3 separate regions of the Homo sapiens genome follow, and regions 2 and 3 are each linked to region 1. The links are contacts of gene promoters, found by promoter capture Hi-C in blood cells and fetal thymus (Javierre and others, 2016). All regions are on one chromosome and are shown on one strand. Each heading gives the region's core, a stretch centred on a gene start or on the middle of the fragment in contact. The rest is flanking DNA. Distances are from core to core; before and after follow the strand shown.

What was found. Contacts are between HindIII fragments. The CHiCAGO score rates a contact against its expected background, and 5 or more counts as called.
Region 2: a fragment that was not itself captured here is called in contact with the fragment with the promoter of CLPS in region 1 in 1 of 17 cell types (M1 macrophages); the score reaches 5.2 in M1 macrophages.
Region 3: a contact is called between a fragment that was not itself captured here and the fragment with the promoter of CLPS in region 1, in 1 of 17 cell types (endothelial precursors). The highest score is 6.1, in endothelial precursors.

The regions. Positions count from the first base shown.
Region 1 is chr6:35,794,697-35,798,885 of GRCh38, reverse strand. It overlaps CLPS (colipase), which reads left to right and starts at 1,563. Exons shown (of 3, transcript NM_001832.4): 1 at 1,563-1,681; 2 at 3,033-3,155; 3 at 3,609-3,904. The coding sequence starts at 1,598. The coding sequence ends at 3,740. The HindIII fragment of the contact is 2,191 bases long and covers 1-1,739 here.
Region 2 is chr6:35,571,508-35,576,228 of GRCh38, reverse strand. FKBP5 (FKBP prolyl isomerase 5) reads left to right here. Exons shown (of 11, transcript NM_004117.4): 11 at 287-2,639. The coding sequence ends at 394. Among named protein-coding and RNA genes, the nearest start is that of LINC03135, 30 kb to the right of the region's middle. The HindIII fragment of the contact is 3,206 bases long and covers 1,620-4,721 here.
Region 3 is chr6:35,550,876-35,555,433 of GRCh38, reverse strand. No RefSeq gene overlaps it. Among named protein-coding and RNA genes, the nearest start is that of LINC03135, 9.5 kb to the right of the region's middle. The HindIII fragment of the contact is 1,968 bases long and covers 1,338-3,305 here.

The sequences.
Region 1 (4,189 bases), core at 314-2,813:
CTTAATCATGACCTCAGGAAGTAGGAGGCGTTATCCCCCTAAGATAAATAAGGAAAGTGAGGTTCAGGGAGCTTCACTTTCAATAATGTGTCTGAGGCCACGTAGCTCCAGTAAATGCTGAATTTTGAAGCCAGCTTGGTCTGGATCAAAGCTGTGCTTGAGGCTGGGCACAGTGGCTCACACCTGTAATCCCAACACTTTAGGAGGCCGAGGTGGGAAGATTGCTTGAGCCCACGAGTTTTAGACCTGGGAGGCTTAGGGGGAAGATTGCTTGATCTCAGGAGGTGGAGGCTGCAGTGAGCCAAGATGGCACAACTGCACTTCGGCCTAGGTGACAGAGTGAGACCTTGTCTCAAAAAATTAAATTAAATTAAATTAAAAGCTGTGCTTGAGGCCTGGGCCTCTCAGTGGAGCTGTCTTCTACCTCCTGGGATGGAGAGGGGAAGGGCAGGGGCCTCTGGCTGCCATGACTAGTCCTTCAGGAAAAGCTGCTCTGTTCCCATGCCTGAGCAAACTCAGGCAGCTGTGCCCTTCCCAGCTTCCTGAGGCCCCTGCTCCATCTGAGGCTCATGAGACCTCTTCATTCTCAGCCAGGACTAGCGACTGCTCACGCGCGCACGTGGCCTTGGGTAGGGGGCAGCGTGAGTGGAAACCTTAACTAAAGGGGTGAGTATCTGATGCTGGAATTGCAGATAGTAAGTGAGGTAGAAAGGAAAGGGGAGAGAGGCATTTAGGAAGGGCCTCCTAAGGGCCCTTGAGTCAGGCCTGCAGGCAGCCCCTGGTGTGAGGGCAGGGGGAGGGTGCCAAAGTGAAAGCACACACACCCTGGCCTGCTGGGGGTTGCAGAACTGTCAGCCCCAGGGATCTGGGCATGGCCTGGAATCCCCCGAGGAGACTGAAGGAAGGTTGAGGGGTGGGAGGCTAGGATCCTCGTCCCTGGAGTCTGACACTGCTAGACACCTGGGCTTGGGTGGGCCAAAGGCAAGGCCTGACTATAGTGAGGCAGAGAGGCCCCAAGTACACAGAATGTAAGCAGGCACTCACACCATAGGTGCCTCTCTTGCCTTGGATTCGTCCAGGCACTGCCCAGGAGCTCAAGACACAAGGGCAGCCACCCTTACCCACTGCTTATGTGGCATATGGGAATATACAATATAAATATATTCTTATAATTGTATATAATAATGTTTATATATATGTAACACATAAATGTGTATTAATTCAACCCTCACAACTCTTTAAATTATCCTTAGTTGACAGATAAGATGAAAGGCAGAATAGTTGGAACAGATAGTAAGTTTGCCTCACTAATAACTTGTACACAGTCCATACTCTTAACCACGATGCAACACAATTATCACCAACACACACACACACACACACACACACACACACACACACACGAAAAAGGCCACCAGGTACTCACCCAGTTTCCTTATCAGGAACCGCCCCACAGCAGATTGGCCACAGCTGTGCCTCTGCCCACGGCCAGCCCTGTGGGATGCAGGTGGATCTCGTGAGGTCAGGGCCCCTTTTATAGCCCCATCACCACAGCTGGCTCTGTCTCCCGCCACCCACACCAGCTGTCCCACTCACCATGGAGAAGATCCTGATCCTCCTGCTTGTCGCCCTCTCTGTGGCCTATGCAGCTCCTGGCCCCCGGGGGATCATTATCAACCTGGTAAGAGGGTCTTCAGGGGAGGCGCCTCCTGAGTCCCCAGATGAAGACTTCCTAAGCTTGGACCTTGACCTCTGATGTCTCCACCTGGACTGGCAGGGGCTGGGAGGAGTGGCATCTTGCATCCCTCTGTTTACTTCCATGTCCTGTCCTATGCCTCTTCCCAGAGGCCACAGGAAAGGCTGATCAGCCCCTCTCCAGCTCCAACTGGAGCATGCTCAGAGCAGCAGCTCAACCTGGCTATGAGGGACCTTTTTTTTCTTTTTTTTCTTTTTGAAACGGAGTCTTGCTCTGTCACCAGGCTGGAGTGTAGTGGCACAATCTCGGCTCACTGCAATCTCTGCTTCCCGGGTTCAAATGATTCTCCTGCCTCAGCCTCCCAAGAAGCTGGGATTACAGGTGCCTGCCATAACGCTCAGCTATTTTTTGTATTTTTAGTAGAAATAGGGTTTCACCATGTTGCCCAGGCTAGTCTCAAACTCCTGACCTCGTGATCCGCCCACCTCGGCCTCCCAAAGTGCTGGGATTACAGGCATGAGCCACCTCACCTGGCCCTACGAGGGAGCTTTGTAAAAATCCAGAGCCCTGGGCTTCCATCCTGAGAAAATGCTTTGCGCCAATCATTCCAGCTTCTGACTTATGGAGATGCCTCGGAGATGTTTACTCATTCTGTTCTCATAATAACCACTGAGGGAGGTGTTTTCAGAGTCAGCCCTGTCTTCAGACAGAGAGAGGGTGAGCAACCTGCCTGAGGTCACATAGCTGGAAAGTGGTTCAGCTGGGGCCCCACCACTGCCCCACACCACCTCTCCACCATGGGTCTTGGCTGGGAAAGCCCTTCCAGAACGTCCATGCGGTTGAAAGGTTCTGAACTCTCTTAACTTGGGGCCATGGCTGGACTTGGAGGTCCAGGACCCTTGGAGATTATAGATCAGATCTGTTGGGGGAGGAAGGAGTCTTGCAGGGAGATGCAATCTTCACCGCCTCCTTAAAGAGGTGTGGGACCCAGAGTGGTTTGGAGAACTTGTCTAGGGGCCTTGTGTGCACATTCCAAATGGGAACACTGAGGCTTGGGAGGCAGTGACTTGCCCAGAGTCACACAGGAGGTTGGTAGCACAGCCGGTACTAGAACCCAGGGGTCCTGACCCTCTGTGCAAGTCTGCTTCTCTGTCACCGCATGCCCACTTCTCACGTGGGTGGGGGGCACAGAGGCCACCAGACCCAGGGGATGGACTCCTTCACACACATCCCTACCAGGGGAGACACTGTTAGTGGTAGTGTGTGGTGGGTACAGGTCTGAATGGAGAAGGGACCTGAGGGAGTGGGGCCTGGGCTGACTGGCTGCTCCTGGCAGGAGAACGGTGAGCTCTGCATGAATAGTGCCCAGTGTAAGAGCAATTGCTGCCAGCATTCAAGTGCGCTGGGCCTGGCCCGCTGCACATCCATGGCCAGCGAGAACAGCGAGTGCTCTGTCAAGGTGGGTGCCTGAGGACTTGGCGTGGGTGGGGGAGAATGGGGAGTAGGGCCCTGAACACTTGTGAGTGGGATCAGGGAGGGGGGTCAGCCTGGACACTGAATGTTGAGGAGACGAGAGGGAGGTCGACAGGTGTCAAAGCACTTTCCCATCCCATCATCTCTCTTGACCCTCCCGAGTGACCAGTGAGATGGGTGGGGGTGGGGATTTGTTATCCCCATTTCATGGCTGGGTAAATAGAGGCTCCCCAGAGAGATCAAGCTAGTAAGAGCAAATGAGCCAGAGCAGAGGTCAGAGCTGGGGTCTCCAGGGCCCACGGCACCCCTGGGGAGGCAGGTGGGAGAGGCACTCCCCGAAAACACAGGCTGGCCTACTGGTTCTCTAGGTCAGGCAGGGGACAAGTGATGTCCAAAGTATCTCCCCATAGCCTTGACTCCATTGGCTGTGTCTCTGCAGACGCTCTATGGGATTTACTACAAGTGTCCCTGTGAGCGTGGCCTGACCTGTGAGGGAGACAAGACCATCGTGGGCTCCATCACCAACACCAACTTTGGCATCTGCCATGACGCTGGACGCTCCAAGCAGTGAGACTGCCCACCCACTCCCACACCTAGCCCAGAATGCTGTAGGCCACTAGGCGCAGGGGCATCTCTCCCCTGCTCCAGCGCATCTCCCGGGCTGGCCACCTCCTTGACCAGCATATCTGTTTTCTGATTGCGCTCTTCACAATTAAAGGCCTCCTGCAAACCTTTCCCAGTCTCCTGCATATTCTTTCTGACTCAGCATCTTCTCTGAAGTTGCATCAGGCCTTTGGTCCACCAGGGCAGGCTTCAGGCAGGTCAGAAGAACAAGGGATGGGTCTGGGGCTGAAGAAGTTGTGGCCAAACAGATTGGAGACTGAAGACAAAGCTGTGAAGGAGACCCAGCCAGCCTAGGAAACCCTCCATTTCTGGGGAGAAGTCACACCTACCTGGGATGCCCTCCTTGTCCCTCCGGTTCTCAAAGAGACAAGCGGGCACATGTGCATGCGCGCGCAC
Region 2 (4,721 bases), core at 1,973-4,472, 220 kb after region 1:
GCAGAGAGGGCGGCCTCCCTACAGCATAGTTGGCATTCTGGTCCTGTCCCCAGTCTCCAGGAATGCCCAGACTTCATTATCCCACAGCTGTCCCATGTGTCAACCAAAGAAAGGTGAAGCTCCCACTCTAACTATTGGTAGCACAGCCCTGACCTACCCAGCTAGATATCCTAGAGAAAATCATTGCAATACCTCGTGTTTGGGACCTGATACACAGTCTGGAGGAGCCAGGAATTATTTCACTTCTTTATTCTCTAACCTTCTTGATTGCTTATTTCTTCCTTAGGAAGAGGCCAATAAAGCAATGGGCAAGAAGACTTCAGAAGGGGTCACTAATGAAAAAGGAACAGACAGTCAAGCAATGGAAGAAGAGAAACCTGAGGGCCACGTATGACGCCACGCCAAGGAGGGAAGAGTCCCAGTGAACTCGGCCCCTCCTCAATGGGCTTTCCCCCAACTCAGGACAGAACAGTGTTTAATGTAAAGTTTGTTATAGTCTATGTGATTCTGGAAGCAAATGGCAAAACCAGTAGCTTCCCAAAAACAGCCCCCCTGCTGCTGCCCGGAGGGTTCACTGAGGGGTGGCACGGGACCACTCCAGGTGGAACAAACAGAAATGACTGTGGTGTGGAGGGAGTGAGCCAGCAGCTTAAGTCCAGCTCATTTCAGTTTCTATCAACCTTCAAGTATCCAATTCAGGGTCCCTGGAGATCATCCTAACAATGTGGGGCTGTTAGGTTTTACCTTTGAACTTTCATAGCACTGCAGAAACCTTTAAAAAAAAAATGCTTCATGAATTTCTCCTTTCCTACAGTTGGGTAGGGTAGGGGAAGGAGGATAAGCTTTTGTTTTTTAAATGACTGAAGTGCTATAAATGTAGTCTGTTGCATTTTTAACCAACAGAACCCACAGTAGAGGGGTCTCATGTCTCCCCAGTTCCACAGCAGTGTCACAGACGTGAAAGCCAGAACCTCAGAGGCCACTTGCTTGCTGACTTAGCCTCCTCCCAAAGTCCCCCTCCTCAGCCAGCCTCCTTGTGAGAGTGGCTTTCTACCACACACAGCCTGTCCCTGGGGGAGTAATTCTGTCATTCCTAAAACACCCTTCAGCAATGATAATGAGCAGATGAGAGTTTCTGGATTAGCTTTTCCTATTTTCGATGAAGTTCTGAGATACTGAAATGTGAAAAGAGCAATCAGAATTGTGCTTTTTCTCCCCTCCTCTATTCCTTTTAGGGAATAATATTCAATACACAGTACTTCCTCCCAGCATTGCTACTGCTCAGCTTCTTCTTTCATTCTAATCCTTGCTATTAAGAATTTAAGACTTGTGCTTACAATATTTTTGACCTGGAGTGGATCTATTTACATAGTCATTTAGGATCCATGCAGCTTTTTTTGTCTTTTTAAGATTATTGGCTCATAAGCATATGTATACTGGTTTATGGAACTTTATTTACACTCCTCTATCATGCAAAAAAATTTTGACTTTTTAGTACTAAGCTTAATTTTTAAAAACAAAATCTGTAGGGTTGACAAATAAATAGTTGCTCTTCTACACTAGGGGTTTCACCTGCAGGTTTGACACGCAGTTGCTCGCTTTTCCTGCCCTGTCAAGCTTCTCTGTTCTGGCGTGAGTTGTGAAAGAGTTGAAGACAGCTTCCCATGCCGGTACACAGCCAGTAGCCTAAATCTCCAGTACTTGAGCTGACCATTGAACTAGGGCAAGTCTTAAATGTGTACATGTAGTTGAATTTCAGTCCTTACGGGTAAACAGATTGAGCATGGCTCTCTATTCCCTCAGCCTAAGAAACACTCATGGGAATGCATTTGGCAACCCAAGGAACCATTTGCTTAAACCTGGAACATCTCACCTTTTTAAATCCTAAAAAACACTGGCAGTTATATTTTAAATTAGTTTTTATTTTTATGATGGTTTTATCAAAAGACTTTTATTATTAGATTGGGACCCCCTTCAAACCTAAAAATCAAGTTATTTCCTTTTATAATACTTTTCTTCCCCATGGAACAAATGGGATCAATTTGTGAGTTTTTTCCTTTAATGATAACTAAAATCCCTCTAATTTCTCATTTATGCTTTTGTCTTTTTTATGAAATATTTCTTTTAAAAGCCCCAGTCTCACCTACGAAATATGAAGAGCAAAAGCTGATTTTGCTTACTTGCTAAACTGTTGGGAAAGCTCTGTAGAGCATGGTTCCAGTGAGGCCAAGATTGAAATTTGATACTAAAAAGGCCACCTAGCTTTTTGCAGATAACAAACAAGAAAGCTATTCCAAGACTCAGATGATGCCAGCTGTCTCCCACGTGTGTATTATGGTTCACCAGGGGGAACTGGCAAAAGTGTGTGTGGGGAGGGGAAGGGTGTGTGAGTGGTTCTGAGCAAATAACTACAGGGTGCCCATTACCACTCAAGAAGACACTTCACGTATTCTTGTATCAAATTCAATAATCTTAAACAATTTGTGTAGAAGTCCACAGACATCTTTCAACCACCTTTTAGGCTGCATATGGATTGCCAAGTCAGCATATGAGGAATTAAAGACATTGTTTTTAAAAAAAAAAAATCATTTAGATGCACTTTTTTGTGTGTTCTTTAAATAAATCCAAAAAAAATGTGACTTCCCATTGTTTTTGGTTTTGCTTAAGTGATTTTCAGGGAAAGCTATATTGGTTAAAAAACCATGGTGGGGGCCAACTTGAAGAAATTAGACATCAGAGAGGTCAGGCGTAGTGGCTCATGCCTGTAATCCCAGCACTTTGGGAGGCCAAGGCAGGTGCATCACCTGAGGTCAGGAGTTTGAGACCAGCCTGGCCAATGTGGTAAAACCCTGTCTCTACTAAAAATACAAAAATTAGCCAGGTGTGGTGGTGCACACCTGTAATCCCAGCTACTCAGGAGGCTGAGGCAGGAGAATCACTTGAACCTGGGAAGTGGAAGTTGCAGTGAGCCAAGATTGTGCCACTGCACTCTGGCCTGGGTGACAGTGAGACTTGGTCTCAAAAAAAAAAAAAAAAAAAAAAAATCAGAAAATCGGCAATGGACAGTATCATCCTACACTTTGCTCTAAGGTGAACCTGAAACCAACATTGGGGTGAAAGTGGCAGAACAATGCATCGTTGCTAAAAAGAACCAAGTAATGGGAAAAATAAAAAGGTTTTGTTTTTTCATTAGCCAGCGGATATTTCACCTTTTTAAGCTGATTTTAAGGTAGGCTCGACTTGCAAAATAAAATTTAATTGTGCCCTTTAATAAATATATGAAACATAAGTAAGGCTATCTAAGGTGGTGGTCCATATTGAGCATGCATTTTCTTTCTTAAGTAGCATATATCATCAATACTCATCATCACAGACTCTCAAGGCCTAAGGAGATGTCACATATACTGCAAATCCTCATTTTCACACTGCAAAAGAAGGTGGCACAGTGCTGGAAGGTACTTAGTAGGACCTCTGAGGTCTACAGACAGGTTGATGCAGGTTCTAGGCACCCTTTATTCCCTCTGAATTCTTGGCTTCATCTCTGGATTTGAATTATATTTCTCCCTCCTCCCTGTTAAATTATTTGGTAATGAAATAAATTCCTAGCTAGGTGCGGTTGCTTATGCTTATAACCCCAGCACTTTGGGAGGCCGAGGTGGGCAGGTTGCTTGAGCCCAGGAGTTCGAGACCAGCCTGGGCAACATGGCAAGACCCTGTCTCTACAAAAAGTACAAAAATTAGACAGACATGATGGTATGCACCTTTAGGCCCAGTTACAGGCTGAGGTGGGAGGATCACTTGAGCCCTGGGAGGTTGAGGCTGCAGTGAGCCATGATCATGCCACTGCACTCCAGCCTGGGTGACAGAGCAAGACCCTATCTCAACCATAATAAATTCCCTTTATTTGCGTGCTTTTTTTTTGTAAGAAAATAATGATCACCCTAGGGATCTTGAGGATGAGCCAGAGAAGATTCCTGGCTGTAAATGTGTGATCTCAGAAATTCAGAGGCAGCTTGCACAACCTCCAAAACGAGGACTGCCAGTGAAGGGCTTTGTCTATACTTACTTGGCCTTAGCAGCACACTGAACTCCACTTTTAGTATGGTACATGTGAAGCCTGTATTCTCTGGGGCTGGAGACTATCTCCAGTATTGGTGACAAAACGCATTGAATTTGAGCCAGTTAGTCAAAATCCTGAAACTCAGAATTCCCCAACCCAGCTGTGTATTTTTTCCATCAGCTGGCTACTTATGCATCTGAATGACAGTGACTGACGAAAGTACATAAAAGGACATTCTCTGATGGCTTGAAAAGTTTTGGTAGACCTTCAGTACTTCCCTTCAGATTTTTCTCTACTACATGTCTGACATGGAGATTTCTGTGGGAGGAGAAGGCACTATCTGTAATTGCCCAGAATCTCCACGTGTGACCTTAATAATACACGGCAAGAAAGAGACAGCGTTAAATACAACTCTTAAGATTTTTGACAGCATCTTGTTTGGGTAACTGCAGCCTATAGTTAGAAAAATTAAAGCACAGTTTATAAGGCAGGGATTCTTTGTCTTCTAAAGATGAGGGAACCTTGGAGAATCAAGAATATGGGGAGGACCCAGAATGGTGATGCAGCCTGCCCATGGCCGTCAGGTCACCTGATGCCCTTGCACCATTTTAAAATAGGTCTTTTTCTAGTATGATGAGTGATGCTCTTGGTGTATGGAAGG
Region 3 (4,558 bases), core at 1,072-3,571, 240 kb after region 1:
CACACCTGTGATCCCAGCACTTTAGGAGGCAAAGGCAGGGGGATCGCTTGAGCCCAGGAGTTCAAGGCCAGTCTAGGCAACACAGCGAGAACCTGTCTCTATTAATAAAAAAAGAAAAAAGAAAAGAAAGGTTATTGGGAAGCCCCAGAATGGAAGTCTCTGTGGCTTTTTCCTCTTGAGCTGGTCCATTTCCCCAGAGAGGAATTTTCCTGGAAGTCAGCATCCACTCACCCATGCTCTTTCCAGGCTGTTACCTCCCTCCATCCTCAGCTGAGTCTGGGGTTGCCAAGGTCACCAAGTTGAACATGTATATGGCACAGCCTTGCCAGAGAAGAGGCCAGTGTTCCGCTTGGAGCAGGGAGGGGCAGCTGCCTGGCTGCATGTAATGGGAGTGGTCTCTGGAAGACTTTCAGCTTCTCCTCTCTTTCAGCCCCATGCTGAACACCCCCCTTCAGAAGCACCTACTGCCTTGCGCAGGCTCTGCGTTACAAACCCACTTCCTTTTGGCTGGCCAGGTCCTCTGCATACTTGGTGCCACCTTCTCCCTGCTGCTGACTCTGTCACCCTCCAGCCATCCCCTTTCCAGCTTCTAAAATTCTGCCAGCGCTGTGTGCTGCTCTCTCCTGTCCTGTTCATTCCCTTTGTCCTTTTGGCTTGATACTTCTTAAATTCCTTTACTGTCTTTTCAGAGGAAAGGGGCTTCCATGGGGAGAAGAGTGTATGTTAGGCCCACCATTTTTATTTTTTATTTATTTTTACTTATTTATTTTGAGATGGAGCCTGTTGCCCAGGCTGGAGTGCAATGGTGTGATCTCAGCTTACTGCAACCTCTGCTTCCTGGGTTCAAGCAATTCTTCTGCCTCAGCCTCCCAAGTAGCTGGGATTACAGGTGTGTGCCACCACACCTGGCTAATTTTTGTATCTGTAGTAGAGACAGGGTTTCACCATGTTGACCAGGCTGGTCTCAAACTCCTGACCTCAAGTGATTCGCCCGCCTCGGCTTCCCAAAGTGCTGGGATTATAGGTGTGAGCCACTGCACCCGGCCAGGGCCTCTATATTTAAACGGACACTGTGTAGGTATTTAGTCTAGAATGTACTTTGTATGGTGGAAGGTAAGGATCTAATATTAGCTTTTTCAGCACCACGTACCGCTTAGTCCATTCTTTCCTTCATGGTTTGTTATGCCACCTCTGTCAGAGCCAAACTCCTGCACCCGTTGGATTTCTTTCTAGGCTGCCAATTCTGTTCCATTAGGATGGATAAAGAGGGACAAAGACACACAGCTATCCATGTGCCAAGACCATAGTTTTAATCATGATAGCTGGTGGTGAAAGCTTATTCTTGTTCCTCTTCAAAATTGTTTTTGTTGGGTCAGGCACAGTGGCTCACGCCTGTAATCCCAACACCTTGGGAGGCTGAGGTGGGTGGATCACCTGAGGTCAGGAGTTCAAGACCAGCCTGGCCAACATGATGAAACCCCGTCTCTGCTAAAAATACAAAAATAGCCCGGTATGGTGGCCTGTGCTTGTAATCCCAGCTACTTCGGAGGCTGAGGCACAAGAATCGCTTGAACTTGGGAGGCAGAGGTTACAGTGAGCCCAGAGCATACCACTGCACTCCAGCTTGGGCGACAGAGCAAGACCCTGTCTCAAAAAAAGAAAAAAATTGTTTTTTTTGGACTTCTGGTTTGTGTATGGTAGAATAAAATTAGCATTTTCCTCCCTCCTCTCAAAAATCATGAGAAGCAACATGGAGAATGAGATACAGAAACATAAAATCCATTTCCAGTAAACCTAGGAGCTACCCGAGATCCTGAGTACTAAAATAGGCCAGAGTGCTGAAGGCAGCAGGGATCCAGCAGAGGGACAGGAGGAAGATCACAGAGGGTGCCTGTGGCTGCAGATAGAGCAGTAGCAACTGCAGAAGCAAACACTTGCACAGCATTTGCAATGACGCTGAGGCTCAGAAAGATGACGTGACTGCGCACAGTCACACAGTAAGCAGGTGACACGGGCAGAATTCAAACCCGGGCCATCTGGCCCCAGAGTCTGTGCCCATGACCTCTCTGCCTGGTTTCCCATCCCCCTACACACACCCAAATGTGAGAAGCAGCAAAGTGCATGCCTTGAGGGCGAGGGGCACACCCTAGTGTATAAAAATAAAATCTTGGCTGGGCACGTTGGCTCACGCCTGTAATCCCAACACTTTGGGAGGCCCAGGTGGGTGGATCACCTGAGGTTGGGAGTTCGAGACCAGCCTGACCAACATGGAGAAACCCCGTCTGTATTAAAAATACAAAACTAGCCAGGCATGGTGGCGCATGCCTGTAACCTCAGCTACTCGGGAGGCTGAGGCAGGAGAATTGCTTGAACCCAGAAGGCAGAGATTGCAGTGAGCTAAGATTGCGCCATTGCACTCCAGCTTGGGCAACAAGAGCGAAACTCCATCTCAAATAAATAAGTAAATAAATAAAATCTTTTTGCAGCAACTGGAGCAGATCAACAGCAGCTGCAAGAACACCCCTGGGTCTGCTTTGCTCCCAAGGAACAAAGCAAAAGCGGCCAATTGAGGAATCATGCAGGCAAGCCATATGTGATGGAATAAAGATGGCTGCAATTTCTTTGCCACTCCTCCCATGAAGAAGTGGAGTCTGTTTCCCCTCCCCTTGAATTTGGACAGGCTGTGTCACGCTTTGACCAATAGAAGGTGTCAGAAGTGATGTTGTGTGACTTTCAAGGTTGGTCTCCAGGACATCGGCAGCTTCCACTCTCAATACTTGAAACACTCCTTCTTGGAATGCAGTTGCCATGCTGTAAGGAAGCCCAAGATAGAACAAGGAAAAGCCCAGAACTGTAGCCTCAGCTAACAGCACCAGCTACCAGCTGTGAGTGGAACATCTTGGAAGTTACAGCCCAGTTGAGCTTCTGGATGCATGCAATTCCAGCCACCACCATGTGGAGGCAGAGTTGAGTCATACCCACAGAGCCTGCCTAAAATACAGAATTTTTATTTAAATGGTTGCTGCTGTCTTAAGCCACTACGTTTTGGGGTGATTTGTCATACAGCAACAGATAACTGAAATACCGTATTTGCAGAAATCAGACTGTGTGATGGGAGAAGAGTAGCTTTGCATTGTCAATTTTGTTAATCTTTTAAAAACCCAATTCTTGGTTTCACTGATTTACTCTATTGTTTTTCTATTCTCTATTTTATTTATCTGTACTCTAATTTTTATGATCTTATTCCCTCTACTTGCTTCTGGTTTAGTTTGATCTTCTTTTTCTAGTTTCTTAAGATGGAAGCTTAAGTTATTGATCTGAAGTATTTCTTTTCTTTTTTTTCCTTTTTTTTTTTTTCTCTCAGAGACACGGTCTCACTATGTCGCTAAGGCTGGAGTACAGTGGTTATTCACAGGCATGATCATCGCACATACAGCCTCAGACTCCTGGGCTAAGTGATCCTCCTGCCTCAGGGTCCGGAGCAGCTGGGTCTACAGGTGCACACTACTACCCCTGCTCAGATCTTTATTTTAAAAAAATTTTTTAGAGGCAGGGTCTCACTCCATCACCTGGACTGAGGTACAGCAGCATGATCATAGCATCCTGCAGCCTCAGACTCCCAGGATCAAGTGATCCTCCTGCCTCAGACTCCTGGGTAGCTGGGATTAGAGGTGTACACCACCATGCCTGGCTTTTTTTTTTTTTTTTTTTTTTTTTTTTGTAGAGACGATATATGTTTATCTGGGAATGTCTTAATTTCTCCATCTTCCCTCTGCCCTCTGGCTGCCATAGATTCTGATGGGGAATTACCTGTGAATCTTACTGAGGATGGCTGTCTGCAATGAGTAGTTTCTCTCTTGCTACTTCTTGCTACTTTCAAAATTTTGATTTTTTTTTAAGACAGTCTCACTCTGTCGTCCAGTCTGGAGTGCAGTGGCGCAATCTTAGCTCACTGCAACCTCCACCTCATAGGTTCAAGCAATTCTCCTGCCTCAGCCTCCCAAGTAGCTGGGACTACAGGCGCCCACTATCATACCCGGATAATTTTTTTTTTTGAGATGGATAATTTTTTTTTTTTTTTTTGGAGATGGAGTCTCACTCTGTCACCCAGGCTGGAGTGCAGTGGCACGATCTCGGCTCACTACAACCTCCACCTCCTGGGTTCAAGCAATTCCCTGCCTCAGCCTCCCAAGCAGCTGGGGTTACAGGTACCCACCACCACGCCCGGCTAATTTTTGTATTTTTAGTAGAGACAGGGTTTCACCATCTTGGCCAGGCTGGTCTTGAACTCCTGACCTTGTGATCCACCCACCTTGGCCTCCCAAAGTGCTGGATTTACAGGTGTGAGCCACCACACCCAGCCAATTTTTGTATTTTTAATAGAGATGGGATCTCACTATATTGCCCAGGCTGGTCTAGAACTCCTGACCTCAGGTGATCCACTGGACTTGGGCTCCCAAAGTGCTGGGATTACAGGCATCAGCCACAGCAACCAGCCATCAAAAGTCTCTTTGGCTTTGACTTTCAATCATTTGATTATAATGTGTCTAGGTGTGAA